2 separate regions of the Homo sapiens genome follow, and region 2 is linked to region 1. The links are contacts of gene promoters, found by promoter capture Hi-C in blood cells and fetal thymus (Javierre and others, 2016). All regions are on one chromosome and are shown on one strand. The core of a region is centred on a gene start or on the middle of the fragment in contact, and the rest is flanking DNA. Distances in the headings are between cores, read along the strand shown.

Region 1 (3,159 bases), core at 467-2,966:
CCCTCGAAACTCCCCTGGCAGAGTCTGTCTAGAAACTAAATCTGGCTGGTTCGGCAGTGAATGTGCGAAGGTGGCTGGGGGGAGGGCAGGGGCTGAGGAGGTGCGACCTCACCGCAAGGCCCAAGTTACTTCCAAACAGCGAATTACCCATTTAAAGAGAGAAGAGAGAAAAGAGAGGCGAGAGAGGAGAAGGGGCCTCGATACCAGACAGGGATTAGAAAGTCAAACAGGGCCGTGGGGTCTCCAGACTTGAAGTTTTTTGTTGTTGTTTTTTTTAACTTTTTGGGGGGAAGAGGGGTTATTTGCTTCCAGGAAACATCTTAATTTCAATTCTAACCTTATTTTCTAAGAAACTTAAAATGGGAAAGACCAGAAAAATGGAAATAGGAATCGAAGCTTGGAGGACAGATAAGAAAAATTGTTTAGAAAATAAAAACTTATGTTGCAGGAAGAAACGTTAACTTTTCGTAAAAGTGAACTCTCAGTGACCCTCGGAGTGTGTGATTCGGCTTTAACATACAACTGACAATTAAAACAAACAAGAGTTCGCAAACTGGCCCCCGCCTGCTCTCCCAAAGCGGAGGCCCAAGTGTTTTCTAAAGGACAAGGCGGACTCCGCTCAGGGGGCCGGGGAGCGCTGTCCCGGAGTACGGGATTACAGCCACTACCACCACAACTCCCCGCCCCCACCACTGCTGCAAAGTGCCTGAGCTCACCCAGTGGCGGCTAATAATGCTAATAACGCGACCCCGCTCCCCGCGCCGGGGTGCGCGCTGGCCCCCCGCCAGGCACTCTTAAAGGCAAAGGGGCCTGAAGCGCTCGAGTTACTCGGCCAAGGCAAGCCTACAATCTGGCCTCCGTCGGTGCGGGGGGGTGTCGGGGAAGGTGTACGCCGCTCTGGAGTAGTTGGCCCCTAGTTCCTCTGCGGGTTCTCTCAACCAAGGAGTCCCTTTCCCCATCCCGAGCCCCGGCCACACACCGTCCCGGTGCCCGCGCAGTGGGCGCTTGGTAAATATTTGTTGAATTGAATCATTATCCTGTTACTGAAATATACATAGTAAATTACACTCGATGTTCTCAGAGCAAAAGGAAAGTCGTCAGTGAACCGCACTCAGTTTGTCTACTATCGCTCTTCCCCACTTTTTCTCAAAAATCAAAATTGTTTGCAGAACGGGTGGTGCGACCAGAAGTGATCTCCTGGGACACTGAGGCAGTGCGCCCGGCGTGGAGGGCGAAGGGGTAGGGGTTCCTGCCAGCGACGCTGGAGTTCCAGCTTCTTCAGGCGGTTGGGGAAATGGAGGGATAGGAAGAGGCGAAGGGAACTCAGTTAACTTCCAACAGGGGGTGGGGGGAAGTAAAGAAAAAAAGTGGCAGCGCACTGAACACCTACCTTCATGGCGAGGGGGAGGGGGCGCGGGGAGGAAGTCGCCACCCGAGCGAGCGCAGCCGAGGAATCCGAGCGGAGCGACCGGGTTAAGCCTGGGGGGACGGTCAGGAGCAGGGCTGCGGAGTCCTCCGGCGCGCGTCCGGCGGGCGCAGTGAACCGGAGCTGAAGCGGGCACTGGCGCCCGGGCCTGGACTCCCGAGTTGGGGCAGAGCTGGGATGCGCCCAGGAATGGAGGGGGCGCGGACGCGCGCGAGCCGGCAGCAAGGGCAGGGCCTGGTCGGGGCGCAACTAGGGAGCCGCCGGTCCGGCGAGGGCGCGCAGGCAACTGTTCCACGGAGAGGCGCTCCGTTTCCAACGTCCATCAGCGACGGCGGTAATTAGGGCTTTCCAACCCCAAATGTGGGCGTGATTGTGCAAAAGACCTTACGACAAATAATAATAAAAAGAAATTCTTCACAAGAGGGTGAAAAAAATGTACCACTACTCAACTGTGGCCCGGGGCGGGGGAAGGGGGGCGATCTGTGCGCCCAGGTGCCCCCAGTTCATTCACACCACAGATTCTGCAAACTCTTGGCGGCTCACGCCTCCTGATCTCCAGCTCCTCCTCTCTGGGTCTGTAGCCGAAACGTCTGCTTCCAGACGCTGATCCTGCAGCCGCGAGTTAGTGTGGACGTCTCTGTACACACACAGACACACACCCCAACACACACACCCCCGCTGCAGCTTTGGGGCCACAGAACAATCAGGCGCGCATGGCTTTTTCTCCGGGAGATGCCGCTGAAAACGCACAAGTCGCCATCTGAGCTGCAAGAGTCAGCCCCAAATTGTGTCCTTTCATTTTAGGGTTCGGCAAAAACGGGGAGCAAAATAGGTGAAAGTCGCCCCGGAACTTATTGCTGTGCGGTGAGCTGGAGGGGTGCGACTAACCCAGGGGAGACGCGGGCTCCCCCCCCCCACCACGTATCCCGTTCTTTCTCTCTTCGGGTTGATCTCTCTTTTCCCCGTTTTTCCAGGGCGAAGGGCGAAGAGCAGCGAGTGCACCGCGGGCGCGAGGCTGGGGAAGGGCGAGAGCTCGGAGCTCCGCGGCGGCGACTCAGCTCCGGCGGTCCATGGCCGGCGAAGCTGCCCACCTCCTCGTTTGGCGCCCGGGTCCGAGGGGCGGGAGAGCGGGCCGGCGGGAGGCGGGCGGTCCCGGGCACAACGGCGGCGGCGGAAGGGCTCGCTGGGCAGCTGCCGCACGGACCCCGGCTCTGGGCGGCGGAGGCGGCTCCGTGGAGCTCGCAGCAGATTTCCACGCGATCCTGTGCCCCGCAAACAGACTGACCGACCGCGGGGACGCGTCCCCCCCTCCCACCCCCCAGCCCTTCTGGCCAACTGCCTTACTCTCTCCCTCCCTCTCTCCAGACTCCTCTTTCCCCTGGTGTTCTCAGAAGGAAGAAAAAAAAAAAAAGAAAGAAAGAAAGAAAGAAAAAAGTTCTTTAAAGTTTCAGAACTAGGGGCGGCTGGAAAGAGAGAGGGAAGGGGGGGGAAGAAAGAAAAAACTCAACTTTGCTATGCGCATGCGTGGTGAGGCCGGCCTATGACAAACTCTGCAGGATTTTAAAGCCGTACTACGGGCTGGGGTGCCGGGAGGCGGGGTACACTCTCCTTGTCTCCCCTTCTCTAAGTTCCCCATCCCCCGCGGCATCTGCTGAAAGAGAGAGGTCCACTCCGCAGCCGCTGCCTGCCTGCCGCCTGGTTGTCTGCGCTCCTTCCAGAGCCACCGACCGGCG
Region 2 (3,159 bases), core at 286-2,785, 650 kb before region 1:
AGGCCTGCTTAAAGCCTGGGCAAGTGTAATTGCATAGCAGTTCATTTTAAGATTCCCACTTGGACTTAAGTTAATGGGATTTTGCCCAGATGGACCATGGTGACCCCCACCTCCTGCTCCTACCCCTTGGAAAATGAATGTTGACTCTACGTCTGCATTTTTCTTGGAAGCCACATGTATGAATCATAAGCAGCACCCTTGCCTCAGTAGCAGCTACAGGTTGGGGGGCCACAGAAAAGCAGGGACCCCCCTAGCAACGTGTTGGGGGACAGAGGGTTTCTGGCCATAGTTGGCTGCATAACTTCTGCTTGGTGGTCTGGGAAAAAAAAAACAAAACTTGCCATTGACTGCTATTTCCTATGGCAAGAGTATAGAATGCCTTTCAATCATAAAGTGCTTACAGTGCAAATGAACTTGCAAATTGATGTGTTTCTCCATGAAACGTTTAAGATTCACAGAGTCCAGACCTGTGGGGACTGGGAATGATGGAGCTGGTGGGTGCAGAAGAGAGTCTTAATTTTCTGCAAATGGTATTTCTGTGTTCCTGCCAGTCTTTGTTGCCATAATGATGAACTGGTATACATAGGAAAGCCTACGGGTTAGGGTTCTGGCCAAGCCAGTTCAAATTGGGGCCAGAACTGCCCCTAGGAGAGGTCCATGAGATCATTGGCCCACATGTGAACTGTTGCCAGACTGAACTGAATGCATTTCCTTTGTTTACCTGGGGCTGGTTACAAATGAATGGTTTCAGTACAAATGCAATATTATGGGTTTCTTTTTTAAAGTAATGATGCAGTAATTACATTTGGAATTAGCTCCTGAGTGAAGTTGATACTATATTCTGGCTTAATATTTTGAAGTTAGTTTCTCATAATCTTGTCTTTGTGCCAGGACAATTACTAGTAATTTATAACTGATTTTTACTGGTTGCAGGAAAAAGGCTTCATTTCTCATTATTGTCAATGGTATGTTTTTATTTCATCCATGTTACATGTTGGCACTGCTTGAAATTTGATTTGAGTTGCAAAGTGGAAGTTGTGCGGAGTTATGGATCAGCTCAAATCAGTTTTCTTTATAGCATTAACGATTAATCAAGGAGTCAGAATATGGGAAGACTTCTAATTCTAAGAGAACTATTTACCATGGGCTGGTTCTGCCTTTGAAAATGGCCTTGCAGGTTTCCAGTGGTGGCCACAGTATGCTTTGAGTATTTTAAGCAAGATGTTAGAACCATGTTTCCAAAAACTATTACAGACTGTATATACTGGTTGACTTGGTTCATGGCAACACTAACTGTCAGCATCATCTCATAGTTAATATTTTTTGTTTATTATATTGATGAATTAAAGTTGTTTACATATTCTTTCACCCAAATTAGGGTGCCCAAAATAATCACTTATATGATTACCATGTATATTATTAGTCATGGTTCTCTAGAGATAGCCTATAGAGCTAGAGATAGGCTATACAGATAGGGTGGGGAGGAATTTAGTTTAAGGAATTGGGTTACACAATTGTGGGGCTGGCAAGTCTGAAATCTGCAAGGCAGGCAGTCTGACATGCTGGAAATTGCAGCAAGAGTTGATGTTGCAGTCTTGAGTTTGAAGACAGTCTACAGGCAGAATTCCTTCTTTTGAGGGGGGCCTTGTCTTTTCTCTTAAGGCCTTCAATGGATTGGATGAGACCCACCCACATTATGGAGAATAATCTGCTTTACTACTGATTAAAATGTTAGTCACATCTAAAAAACACCTTCCCAGCAACATCTAGACTGGCAGTTGCTCAAACAACTGAGCATGATGGCCTAGCCAAGTTGACACATAAAATTAACCATGTCACCATGAGTTCCCAGTCCTAGACAGACCAGGAGATTCTTGCTTCATTTTACTTGTCACGGAGGGATATAGGACTATCTTGATATCCATGTAAAACTTATAAAAGCATGGCCCCCTCCACCCCTGTTGGGAGTTTTTTTCCAACACCTGCCAGCTTCTCTTTAGCTGTCATGATTATTGGTGGAAATGAAATGGAAAGGATTGCCCTATACGAATGCTTCTTGCATTTTAATATACATACGAATCATTAAAATAATTATTCACATTCAGAGTGTTTGGAATGGGGCCTGAGACTAACAAGCACTTAGGTGCTACAGGTGCTGCTGTTCTGGGTACTACATTGTAAGTAGTGACACCCCACAGCTCTAATAATCTATTAGAAGAACAAGGCAAAAGAAAGACTAAGTTTAATGACCTTTACTCAAGAGACCAGCCAGTCAATGGGGGCTTCAAACGCTTAGATTTTAGGATCTTCTCTTTATAATGCCTCTTTCCAAGTAGATTGAGGGAGCAATGCCTGATTATTCTGTGGAACTAAAGCTATGGAAGAGAAGTGTCCAAATATCAGAAAACACGCTAGGTTGAAGATAGTGGATTCTAGTTCACGGATTGCTTCACTTGGGGCTTGAACAGGCTACGAAGCCAGAAGGACTTGCCTGGTCAATTTTGGTGCCTGTCAGCAGTGCCTCCAGCCTTAATCTCATTTTGGACTCTGCTACTTACTAGCTGTGTGACCTCGAAGGCAGAGAAAAGAAGCTGGCATCCTTTGAGCACTTCCATATGCCAGGTACCATGCTGGGCAGTTTTCTGTTTTGTCTTCATGGCAACAGTGCTGGGGAATAGTGGGCATTATTTCATATGAGCATGTGGAGACTTCACTAGTGCAGTTAGGAAAGATTCAGAGCTGAGATTTAGAACCAGATTTGTCTTGGGCCAAAGCCTACCATGTTCCAAGACTCTGTTTCCCTATTTGTTTGGGACAGAGTAGGGGTTCCTGCCTGTCTCCCAACACTGTGTAAAAAGCAGGTGCAATGGTGTGTCTCCATGTGTCTGTAACCCAATTGAGAGGTTTACAGACGTGAATCACATGCTGTATTTCAAGGGCCATTCTTTTTTTTTTTCTTTTTTTTTTTTTTTGTTTTTGTTTTGGGAGAGAGTCTCGCTCTGTCACCCAGCCTGGAGTGCAGTGGCACTATCTCGGCCCACTGCAAGCTCCGTTTCCCGGGTTCACACCATTCTCCTGCCTCAGCCTCCCGAGTAGCTGGGACTACAGGCACCTGCCACCACACCTGGCTAATTTTTTGTATTTTTAGTAGAGACGGGG

The links. The method cuts DNA at HindIII sites, captures the fragments that hold promoters and counts their contacts. A CHiCAGO score of 5 or more calls a contact.
Region 2: a fragment that was not itself captured here is called in contact with the fragment with the promoter of WNT5A in region 1 in 1 of 17 cell types (megakaryocytes); the score reaches 7.9 in megakaryocytes.

The regions. Positions count from the first base shown.
Region 1 is chr3:55,485,590-55,488,748 of GRCh38, forward strand. It overlaps WNT5A (Wnt family member 5A), which reads right to left and starts at 1,717. Exons shown (of 5, transcript NM_003392.7): 1 at 1,391-1,717. The coding sequence starts at 1,396. It overlaps WNT5A-AS1 (WNT5A antisense RNA 1), which reads left to right and starts at 2,029. Exons shown (of 2, transcript NR_046656.1): 1 at 2,029-2,290; 2 at 2,401-2,719. The HindIII fragment of the contact is 5,010 bases long and covers 395-3,159 here.
Region 2 is chr3:54,833,270-54,836,428 of GRCh38, forward strand. All of the region lies in intron 14 of CACNA2D3 (calcium voltage-gated channel auxiliary subunit alpha2delta 3), which reads left to right. Among named protein-coding and RNA genes, the nearest start is that of CACNA2D3-AS1, 66 kb to the right of the region's middle. The HindIII fragment of the contact is 6,803 bases long and covers 1-3,159 here.